2 separate regions of the Homo sapiens genome follow, and region 2 is linked to region 1. The links are contacts of gene promoters, found by promoter capture Hi-C in blood cells and fetal thymus (Javierre and others, 2016). All regions are on one chromosome and are shown on one strand. The core of a region is centred on a gene start or on the middle of the fragment in contact, and the rest is flanking DNA. Distances in the headings are between cores, read along the strand shown. Region 1 holds the start of SCAT2 (S-phase cancer associated transcript 2). Region 2 overlaps ATF7-NPFF (ATF7-NPFF readthrough).

The links. Contacts are between HindIII fragments. The CHiCAGO score rates a contact against its expected background, and 5 or more counts as called.
Region 2: a contact is called between a fragment that was not itself captured here and the fragment with the promoter of SCAT2 in region 1, in 1 of 17 cell types (erythroblasts). The highest score is 5.2, in erythroblasts.

Annotation. Positions count from the first base shown.
Region 1 is chr12:54,259,775-54,265,778 of GRCh38, reverse strand. SCAT2 (S-phase cancer associated transcript 2) reads right to left here and starts at 3,164. Exons shown (of 2, transcript NR_157844.1): 1 at 2,842-3,164. The region is part of intron 1 of CBX5 (chromobox 5); the gene reads left to right. The HindIII fragment of the contact is 3,994 bases long and covers 1,247-5,240 here.
Region 2 is chr12:53,617,215-53,623,218 of GRCh38, reverse strand. All of the region lies in intron 1 of ATF7-NPFF (ATF7-NPFF readthrough), which reads left to right. The region is part of intron 1 of ATF7 (activating transcription factor 7); the gene reads left to right. Among named protein-coding and RNA genes, the nearest start is that of ATF7, 6.2 kb to the left of the region's middle. The HindIII fragment of the contact is 5,613 bases long and covers 1-5,487 here.

The DNA of each region.
Region 1 (6,004 bases), core at 1,915-4,414:
GAGCCGTTGTGCCCAGCCTCTTGGCCTGATTTTTAAAGGATCATGAACTAGAGCTGTGCTAGCCAATGGGAGAACATTTCTTGCCTCCATGCTCTCTTCTTTTAATAAAGTTTGTGTTGTCTATATGTGGCTCGTTAATGATAGGGGTGTTAACGACCATAGTTAATCTTTCTCTTCAACTCTTTCCTAATCTAGTCTCTTAAACAGACATTTAAAAAGCTTTTAACTCCTCTTGAATTGTGTGCTCATGGGCTTTTGGTGGAGGTGGAGTGATAGTTATCAGCCCATTTAACAAAACCTGAGACAGCCAGGACAGCTGTAATGTGCATCTCTATGCTGTGTTTTTGTTAAAATGCCACATGGCTAATACTTTGGAAATCATAAATCCACTGCAAGAAAACATCTTTATAGGGGATATTTTAGTTTTATGCTGTTTGTGTTACACACCTAAAACCATCAGTACTTCAAGCTCCATAAAGAGCAAGGAACATAGAGCAGATTAAAATGTTTCTGTAAGTTTGGTTTATTTTCATCTGTTTTATTTGCTGCAATAAGGCTATATAGAGGATGCTTTGAAGACAGTGCTGTAGCTGACAATTTAATCTTCACCTAAGCCACTCTCTCCCTAAGGGCCTTAAGGAGAAGTGGGAATCGTGCAAGTCTGGGCCAACTGCAACCACTCATCAATGGCATATCTAATTAATCCATGTGATAGGGAGCTTTGCATATGCGCTCTCCTCTGCTCTTTAACCCTGGCTTACTTCCTAAAGGATTTTGCTTAGTTAGGGGGCTTATAGAATTTATGTTGAAACTCTACAATGGAGAGCTCATTGATTATGCATCTTGACATTTGGTTTGATTACCATCTTTAATTCAGTGGGTAGTTCAGTGAGGCAGCTTACCAATTGGCTTTCTTTTTCTTTTTTTTTTTCTTTGAGATGGAGTTTCACTCTTGTCTCCCAGGCTAGAGTGCAGTGGCGCAATCTTGGCTCACTGCAACCTCTACCTCCCAGATTCAAGCGATTCTCCTACCTCAGCCTCCCCAGTAGCTGGGATTACAGGCACCTGCCACCACACCTGGCTAATTTTTGTATTTTTAGTAGAGATGGGGTTTCGCCATGTTGGCCAGCCTGGTCTCAAACTCCCGACCTCAGGTGATCCACCCACCTTGGCCTCCCAAAGTGCTGGGATTACAGGCATGAGCCACTGCGCCCGGCTGGCTTTCATTCTTAATAAGAAGAAAGCTTAGTGAAAGATCTAGAATTATGTGTACTTTTGCTCATAAGTGGTGATGAAAATGAAATGACTATAACAAGATAAGAAAAGCCACCAGAATTGGTATTGAGAAGTAGTGACTGCTTTGTGGGGGTAAGGCAGGAGGATTGCTTCAGCCCAGAAGTTTGAGACCAGCTTGGGCAACACAGTGAGACTGCATCTCACCAAAAAATAAAAAAATGTAGCCAGGCATGGTGGCGTGCCCCTGTGGTCCCAGCTGCTCAGAAGGCCAAGGTGAGAGGATTGCTTGAGCCCAGGAGTTTGAGACTGCAATAAACTGTCCGCACCACTGCACTGCAGCCTGAACAACAGAACGAGGCCCTGTCTCAAAAAAGAAATGACTGGAGGGATGAGAGTAGAACCTGAACTGGACAAAGCAGACAGATACCAGGGACCCTATGTGGGTTCTTCCAGCATTAAACGGTCAATGCTGAGGGCTAACCATTACCTCTTTTTTATTTGAGACGGAGTCTCACGCTGTCTCCCAGGCTGGAGTGCAGTGGTGCGATCTCGGCTCACTGCAAGCCCCGCCTCCTGGGTTCACACCATTCTTTTGCCTCAGCCTCCCCAGTAGCTGGGACTACAGGCTCCCGCCACCACATCTGGCTAATTTTTTGTATTTTTAGTAGAGACAGGGTTTCACCATGTTAGCCAGGATGGTCTCAATCTCCTGACCTCGTGAGCCACTGCGCCTGGCCTTTTTTTTTCTTTTTTCTTTTCTTTTTTTTTTTTTTTTTTTTTGAGATAGAGTCTTACCCTGTTGCCCAGGCTGGAGTGCAGTGGCGCGATCTCAGCTCACTGCAACCTCCGCCTCCCGTTTAAGCGATTCTCCTGCCTCACCCTCCTGAGTAGCTGGGATTACAGGTGCGTAACTGCCTCAGCCTCCCGAGTAGCTGGGATTACACCACGCCTGACTAATTTTTTTGTGTCTTTAGTAGAGACGGGGTTTCACCATGTTGGCCAGGCTGGTCTCAAACTCCTGACCTCATGATCCACCTGCCTTGGCTTCCCAAAGTGCTGGGATTACAGGCGAGAGCCGCTGTGCCGGCCTACCTCTTGTTTTTCTGGGTTGCCCTAGCTTGCTTGTGATGCCCTCTCTGTAATTGCTGAGGACTGATAAGTTTTTTGTTTGGTTTTTTTTTGAGACGGAGTTTTGCCCTTGTTGTCCAGGCTGGAGTGCAATGGCTTGATCTCGGCTCACTGCAACCTCCATCTTCTGGGTTCAAGTGATTCTCCTGCCTCAGCCTCCCAAGTAGCTGAGATAACAGGTGCCTGCCACCACACCTGGCTAATTTTTGTATTTTTAGTAGAGACAGGGTTTCACCATGTTGGCCAGGTTGGTCTGGAACTCCTGACCTCAGGAGATCTGCCCGCCTCGGCCTACCAAAGTGCTGGGATTACAGGCGTGAGCCACCGCGCCCAGCCTCTTTTCTCATCTCAATGGGCCTTAGGTGCTGTAATCTATAGTTATTGGTAGCTTTACCAGATAGTTCCTATGTATATTTAAGAGAGAAGGCTGAGAGCTGTTATGCCTGAAAGACTCCAGAAATTTGAGAAGCTACTCACCCTTTCCCTTGGAGATTTCCACAAGGATAAGGTTGTGTTCAGAGGCTCATCTTCTTTTCCTCTGTCATGGTATTGGGATTCTATCTTAATCACTCCATCATCCTGCCAGCCATGTCTCATTTCTCATGCTGGAAAGCTCCCTCCTCCTAAGCTCAGTGTGAACCACCAGTCTTGATGCTTTATCTGGTCTAGGCTCTAGCCCTTAAATTGTTTGACTGGCTTTGTGTTTCATTTGACCCTAATACTCCGGGTCACACTGTCTAAAAGAGAATTATGTCCCCTCCGATGTCTGAGTGCATTTCTCATTTCTTACTGCTGCTCCTGAGCAGATCTGTAACTTCAAGGTTAAGATAAGACACATTCCATCAGAACTATGTCGTCATCCTTGCCAGCTTCTGATCTGTGACTGTCTAGGAGATTTACAAGACAATTGCATGCCATCCTTTAAAGAATATTATGGTTGTACTCTGACTCCTGGCATCAGGCCCAATTCGATTTGTCAGTGGTTACAAAACCCATTTCCCAAAAAGAAAAGGACCTCGGCCCATGTGCCCTTTAGGCAGTTCTTAAGGGTGGAAAGGAGGGAATTGAACTCAATCTTTATTTTCTGATGTTTTGTGGGGAGGGGTGGACACCAGAATATTTTTGTCTCTTTCCTCATTAAATTCACTTTTCTTTCTCTGAAAGGTTTCACCAAAATGTTAGTATTGCTGTCATTCTCTCCTGTTCCTTATTCCTTCACAGAGTTACTATTAGTCTTTTCATTCTGCCATCTTTAAAGTTTGTCTGAGTTTTAAGGAATAAGTATTTTGCCCTTGAGAGAGAACGTACCTACCCTGTTCTCTGAAGGTTTATTCGTTTTCCAGTGCCTAGTTAACAAAGACACTGTTCCTCTTTTTCTTGCTATCTACTAATGTGTTGAGCTGCAGGAGTTACTGCATGTGATATGGTTTACTAGCTTAGGAATTTGGAAGGTCACATATTTTCTTCTGCTGTTGTATTCAGCCCTGACATATTTTTACAGAAGGTTCTTTTTGGGGGACTTAATAGATCTTTGGTTTCAACATAAACTCACTTTTTCCCTCGGAGGTACGTAGGGCAGGTAGTACAGATTTATTTAGCCCGTTTAAATGATGCCGGGGTTAGATGGAAAATTTATTTACTCAGGATAACACATGGCAAGTTAATCAGAGTCAGGATCCTATTTAAATGTTTGTTATTGTTTTTATATCCCTTAATTATGAAAAGTTAAAAGGTAAGAGTTGAAAAATGCCGTTTTTAATTGGAGGTTTGCTGATGGTCCATTCAAATCTGAGGAAATCTTTTGTAATTAAAAAATTTCTGGCCGGGTGCAGTGTCTCATGCCTGTAATCCCAGCACTTTGGGAGGCCCAGGTGGGCGGATCACAAGATGAGGAAATCGAGACCATCCTGGCCAACATGATGAAACCCCATCTCTGCTAAAAATACAAAAATTAGCTGGGCGTGGTGGCACATGCCTGTAATCCCAGCTACTTGGGAGGCTGAGGCAGGAGAATCCCTTGAACCAGGGAGTTGGAGGTTGCAGTAAGCCGAGATGGCGCCACAGCACTCTAGCCTGGTGACAGAGCGAGACTCCGTCTCAAAAAAAAAAAAGAAAAAAGAAAAAAATTTCTACTTTGGTCTTACACCCTATGGTTTCTTCTGTTTGACAGTCGTAATAGTCACCATTGTGCTTCTTCTCAACTGAGTTCTTTTTTTTTTTTTTTTGAGACGGTTTCGCTCTTGTTGCTCAGGCTGGAGTGCAGTGGCGCAGTCTCGGCTCACTGCAACCTCTGCCTCCCAGGTTCAAGCGATTCTCCTGCCTTAGCCTCCCAAGTAGCTGGGATTACAGGCAAGTGCTACTATGTCTGGCTAATTTTTGCATTTTTAGTAGAGATGGGGCGTCACCATGTTGGTCAGGCTGGTCTCGAACTCCTGACCTCAGGTAATCCACCTGCCTCGGCTTCCCAAAGTGCTGGGATTACAGGTGTGAGCCACTGTTCCTGGCTCAACTGAGTTCTTTGCTTTTGATTGTCCCTTTTTCTTACTCTCCTATGGCAGCCACTTCTGGCTTTAAAGTTCCCACATCTATAAAGCAGAGTAGAGTTTTGGAGCTCTCTAAAATGTTCTTTAGAGCCAGAAGAATGGAAAACTTACAGTATTTCAAGTCTCTATATATCTTTTTTATTTATCCTAGTACTCCTTTTCTCAAGTATTGAGACATACTGATACAGAGAGTTGTATATTAATAATGTATCAGGTGATGAATAATTATTTAAAAATCTGTTTTATAACATTATAGAGCAACCTATAAGTGGTTTAAATTTATCAACCATTAGGTTGTGGCAGAACTGCTCTCCTCTTTTTTTTTTTTAAGCTTCTTAGGAATTTTTTTCCACCTAAATTCATTTTGTTTTATTTTTTCGAGACAGTCTCACTCTTGTCGCCCAGGCTGGAGTGCAGTGGTGCGATCTAGGCTCACTGCAACCTCTGCCTCCTGGGTTCAAGCGATTTCTCCTCCCTCAGCCCCCTGAGGAGCTGGGACTATATGCGCCTGCCACCACACCTGGCTAATTTTTTTGTATTTTTAGTAGAGACGGGGTTTCACCACGTTGGTCAGGCTAGTCTTGAGCACGTGACCTCAAATGATTGCCCCGTCCCGGCCTCCCAAAGTTCTGGGATTACAGGCATGAGCCACTGCACCTGGCCCTCCACCTCTAATTTTAGTTAAAAGGGGTTTTTTTTTTTTTTTTTTTTGGTTGTTGTTTTGGTAGTGCTTCATGTCTTTGGATTTTGTCTCTAGTAATCCCCCCAAAGAAGGAAAGTTATATAGTGTCTTTAAAATACTTCCCCTCCCCTGTTTCCTGTTATTTTTCCCCTCAAGCAATTTTAATTAACTGTTCTGTGACAGACGGTAAAATGGGATTGCCCAAAGTGCTCTGGTGGGCTGGATTAAGTGATGGGTGGTTTGTACTGATCGTGTTGTAGAAGGATCGAGCCTTTCCCCTCCCCCTTCAGTTGAGCTGTAATCTTGTTAGATGATCTTAAAATGTTATTGATTAATTCACAGTGCTGTTAGAGGAATAAGCATAAATACTGGATTTAAAACCTAAGAAGTAATTCCCTTAAGCTCTGAATGCCTT
Region 2 (6,004 bases), core at 1,432-3,931, 640 kb after region 1:
TTGACTTTTGAATACTCTAAGGAGAAAGTCTCCACTTCACAGATACCCTGTTCCATTATTGGAGCTTTACTTTTAGAACATTTTTTACATTGTGCTGAAGCTCTTTAGCTCTGTTATCTGAAGCCACAATAAATAAATCTAGTTCCTTGTTAACATGGTAGTCTTCAAGTATTTCATGACACTTATCGCTTTCATTCTTTTAGAGACAGGGTCTCGCTATGTTGCCCAGGCTAGAGTGCAAGTGACGTGATCACAGATCATTGTAACCTCGAACTCCTAGGCTAAAGTTATCTTCTAGTCCTAGCTTCCTGAGTAACTAGGACTCTTGGCCTCAAGCAGTCCTCCCAGCCTCCAAGTAGCTGGGACCACAGGCGCATGCCAACATGCCTGGCTAATTTTTAAATTTTTTGTAGAGATTGGGTCTCCCTGCATTGCCCAGGCTCTTCTGGAATTCCTAGGCTCAAGCCATCTCCCCACCTTGGTCTCTCAAAGTGCTGGGATTACAGGAGGCATCTCTTCTGGGGTAAATACCCCAAGTTCTTTAAGCTATTTTTTTTTTTTTTTTTGAGACGCAATTTCGCACTTTTGCCCTGGCTGGAGTGCAGAGTCTCGCGCTTTTGCCCTGGCTGGAGTGCAGTGGCACAATCTCAGCTCACTGCAAGCCCCGCCTCCCAGGTTCACGCCATTCTCCTGCCTCAACCTCCCGAGTAGCTGGGACTAGCAGGCGCCCGCCACCATGCCTGACTAATTTTTTGTATTTTTAGTAGAGACGGAGTTTCACCGTGTTAGCCAGGATGGTCTCAATATCCTGACCACGTGATCTGCCCTCCTCGGCCTCTCAAAGTGCTGGGATTACAGGTGTGAGCCACCACGCCCGGCCAGCTATTTCTATTATTATTATTATTATTATTATTTTTGAGATGGAGTCTTGCTGTGTTTCCCAGACTGGAGTGCAGTGGTGCGATCTCAGCTCACTACAACCTCCAACTTCCGGTTTCAAGCGATTCTTGTCCCTTAGCCTCCTGAGTAGCTGGGAGTACAGGTGCCCGCCATCCATGCCTAGCTAATTTTTGTATTTTTAGTAGAGACGGGGTTTCACCATTTTGGCCAGGCTGGTCTTGAACTCTTGACCTCAAGTGATCCGCCTACCTCGGCCTCCCAAAGTGCTGGAATTACAGGCATGAGCCACTGAGCCCAGCCCGTACGATTTCTTAAGTGACATTTTAAATAAAAGATCAGGCTCTTCATCAAGTTAGTTACCTGAGTGGTTTATGGTTCCTCATCTAGGTCTGAACATCTCAGATATAATCTAATAAATACAAACTACGGGGGGAATCACAACTTCTATTTTATTGCACTCTATGCCTCTGTTTTTAAAGCCTAAGATCACATTAGTTTGTGTAGTTGATTTTTTTTTTTTTTTTTTTTTTGAGACAGAGTCTTGCTCTGTCACCCAGGCTGGAATACAGTGGCTCGATCTTGTTTCACTGCAACCTCCGCCTCCCGGGTTCAAGCGATTCTCCTGCCTCAGCCACCAGAGTAGTTGGGATTACAGGCCTGCACCACCACACCCAACTAATTTTTTTTTTTTGTATTTTTAGAAGAGACGGGGTTTCACCATGTTGGCTAGGCTGGTCCCGAACTCCTGACTTTAAGTGATCCACCCACCTTGAACTCCCAAAGTGCTAGGATTACAGGCGTGAGCCACCGCGCCGGCCATGTAGTTGATTTTTTGACAACTTTACATTTATCCCTGTAATTATCATTTTGTTAATTTGGTTTGTTGTTTTAGCTTGATAATGTCATTTCACCTCTTGACCATTTCTCATATGTTTGTATTATTGATAAATTTGATAAACATGATACCTGTGTTTTTGTTTTAGGTCACTGGTAAACATGTATAAGGGTAGAACAATGCTATACAACATGAGTAGACTATCATTATGTTAACATTAACCTGTTAGTCAACTTTTGGATAAAATTCAGTTGTGAATCCCACCTGCCATTTTATATAATCTAACCTTTATTTTCTATGAAATAGCAAGAGGTATCTTGTTGAAATCCAAATGCAGTATATTCTGCCTCTGACATCTCTGAACTCCTAGGCTAGTGACCCTGTCAAAAAAGAAAATGAAGTTGCATATTAGTTGCTGTTTGGGTATCTTATGCTACTGTTTATAGATCACTGCATAACTTGCCAGTGGTTCATAAGTGATCTGTTTAATAATTCATTTAGAATCTTTCTGAGAAATAATATTTCACTAGTCTACGATTTCTGTACTCGACCTCCCTTGCCCCACATTTTAAAAAATTATAATTTTCCCATTTCCAAGACTTCTAGTCCTGTTTTTTTTTCATTTTCAAATAATTATAGAAAATTAACCATATTTCTTCATAGTTGCAGGGATTTTTTGTTGTTATTTTGTTACTGTCTTTTGGTTGTGGTTTTTTTCTTTTTCTTTTTTTTTTTGAGACGAAGTCTCGCTGTGTTCCCCAGGCTAGAGTGCAGTGGCAGGCTTACTGCAACCTCTGCCGCCCAGGTTCAAGCAATTCTCAGGCCTTAGCTTCCCAAGTAGCTGGGATTACAGGCATGTGCCACCACACCTGGCTAATTTTTGTATTTTTTTTTTTTTTTTTTTTTTTGAGACGGAGTCTCGCTCTGTCGCCCAGGCTGGAGTGCAGTGGCGGGATCTCGGCTCACTGCAAGCTCCGCCTCCCGGGTTCACGCCATTCTCCTGCCTCAGCCTCCCAAGTAGCTGGGACTACAGGCGCCCGCCACTACGCCCGGCTAATTTTTTGTATTTTTAGTAGAGACGGGGTTTCACCGTTTTAGCCAGGATGGTCTCGATCTCCTGACCTCGTGATCCGCCCGCCTCGGCCTCCCAAAGTGCTGGGATTACAGGCGTGAGCCACCGCGCCCGGCCTAATTTTTGTATTTTTTTAGTAGATATGGGTTTTCATCATGTTGGCCAGGCTGGTCTTGAACTCCTGACCTCAAGTGATCCACCTACCTCGGCCTCCCAAAGTGCTAGGATTACAGGCGTGAGCCACCGTGCTCGGCCATGGTTTTTTTTTGAGACAGGGTCTTACTCTGTTGCCCAGACTGGAGTACAGTGGCACAATCATGGCTCATACTGCAGCTTCAGTCTCCCAGGCTCAAGCCATCCTCCTACCTCAGCCTCCTGAGTAGCTGAGACTAAAGGCTCATGCCACCATGCCTGGCTAATTTTGTTTATTTTTTGTAGAGGTCTCATCATGTTTCCCAGGCTGGTCTCGAACTGCTGGGCTCAAACAGTCCTCCTGCCTTAGCCTCCCAAAGTGCTGAGATTACACGCATGAGCTACTGTGCCTGGCCAGATTTTTTGACATTAGATGAAATTCTGTTTCGGAAACTTTTTTTTTTTTCTGAGGCAGGGTCTCCCTCTGTCTCCCAGGCTGGAGTGCAATGGCGCCATCTTGGCTCACTGCAGTCTCTGCCTCCTGGGCTCAAGTGATTATCCTGCCTCCGCCTCCTGAGTAGCTAGGACTACAGATGTGCGCCACCGTGCCCATCTAATTTTTGTATTTTTTGTAGAGACAGAGTTTCCCATGTTGCCTAGGCTGGTCTTGAATTCCTAAGTTCAGGTGATCTGCCTGCTTTGGCCTCCCAAAGTGCTGGAATTACAGGCTGGGCCCCCATGCCCAGCTTGTTTTGGAAACTCTTCTTTTTTTTTTCTTTTTTTTTTTTTTTTTGACACGGAGTCTCGCTCTGTCTCCCAGGATGCAGTGCAGTGGTGTAATCTCAGCTCACTGCAACTTCTGCCTCCTGGGTTCAAGGAGTTCTCCCCCTCAGCCTCCCAAGTAGCTGGGACTGCAGGCACATGCCACCACGCCTGGCTAATTTTTGTATTTTTAGTAGAGACGTGGTTTCACCATGTTGCAGGCTGGTCTCAAACTCCTGGCCTCAGTTGATGCGCCCACCTGGGCCTCCCAAAGTGCTGGGCTTACAGTGTGAGCCACCTGCCCTTGGAAACTCTTTTAGGAAAAAAACTTTATTCCCTGGACATTTCAACTTAGAAATGAAAGAATTAAACTACTCTCTGAAAACAATTTTATGTAGTTTCCCTGTAATGTTGACATCTCCAATTTAGACCTAACTTTTCATTTTCTTCTTTTTTTTTTTTTTTGGAGACAGAGTCTTGCTATGTCAGCCAGGCTGGAGTGCAGTGGTGCAGTCTTGGCTCACTGCAACCTCTGCCTCCCAGGTTCAAGCAATTCTCATGCCTCAGCCTCCCAAGTAGCTGGGACTACAGGTGCCCACCACTGCGCCCGGCTAACTTTTTGTGTTTTAGTAGAGATGGGGTTTCACCATGTTGCTCAGGGTGGTCTCGAACGCCTGAGCTCAGGCAATCCACCTACCTCAGCGTCCCAAAGTGCTGGGATTACAGGCAAGAACCATCGCGTCCGACCCTAACTTTTCATTTTCTGTTTGGAATAAAAACCTATACCAACTATAAACACACACACACACACACAATTGCCATTTATAATTGTAGTTTATTGGCAAGGATGGTCTAAGTTTGCCAGGTCTAAGTGTTGTAGGTGAAGGGTGCTACAAATGAGATACAACTTCAGAAGACATCTCTAGGGACTAAAGACTTTACATTGGCAGGCAGCAACTTTTCCTGCTTGTTAATTTTAGACCTGACAGTTGAATTTATGTTTGAGCAATTTTAGCTGATAAATGCATTTTTTAAGTACCTTCCTCTTTTGGCATTTTAATTTTTACTTTCGTTTTTAAAAAATTGCAAATCGTGAATGAATGTGCATATTAAATTAGCATGCTACTAGGCAGGGAAACAATGCATTTTCTTTTGATACCTTCTCATCCATCTGATAGCATTAGTTATGAATTCTCCTGGAAAGCAGAAGGATGGACTCGATAACCCCTCAAGGTTCTTTTCAGGCCAGAACTTTCATAAATAGAAGTTAAGATCAAGGAACTTACTCTTGAAGAATCAGGAAGAAAAATAGACTGTAAAGAAAATAAAATTGAAATGTTTCTGTCGACCCAGTGGGAATGGATAAACACAAGTAAGGAACATAAATGACGAGAAATAATAACTCCTTTGAGCTAAAAACAAAACAAAAATCAACAACAACAAATATTTTGCATTGGAGTCATTTTATATCTTAAAAATATTTTATCATGACATTTTCTCTTCGACATTTCCCTTGTGGACACTTTGTGTTGAAAGAATGTTGGGTTTTGTTCCTGTTAAATCATAGTATTTTGTTTCCTTCCTTTCTCTTGTTTGTCCTTTTGTTTAAAAACTTTTTTTTTTTTTTTGGTCTTCTGTATAATGGACTGACTGCCTGTTTACAATGAGGCAAGATTCAATTCAATTTTGAAAGTATTTGCTATATCACTTCCTCGGAAATGAAGGATGAGTGTTACAATTCAGGAAAGGTTGTATGAAAAGATAAACTTGTATAAAAAGATAAGCTTTTAAAATTTTGTAGGCAAACATTTAACGAAGGTTCCCAACCAAAGCAAAGGTGAGTTAGTATAGTAGTCTTTTTTTTATTATTATTTAAAAAAATTTTTTTTGAGACATAGTCTTGCTCTGTCACCCAGGCTGGAGTGCAGTGGCACAATCTTGGCTCACTGCAGCCTCCGGCTTCTGATTACAAGCAATTCTTCTGCCTCAGCCTCCCGAGTAGCTGGGATTACAGTTGCCTGCCACTATGCTTGGCTAATTTTTGTATTTTTAGTAGAGACGGGGTTTCAACCATGTTGGCCAGGCTGCTCTCGCACCCGTGACCTCAAATGATCCACCCACCTTGACCTCCCCAAGTGCTGGGATTACAGGTGTGAGCCACTGTGCCTGGCCTAGTATAGTAGTTTTAAGAAGGACATAATACATAAGCATTGGTTGGGCACAGTAGTTCACACCTATAATCCTAGCACTTTGGGAGGCTTGGGCCCAGGAGTTCGAGACCAGCCTGGGCAACATGACAAAAC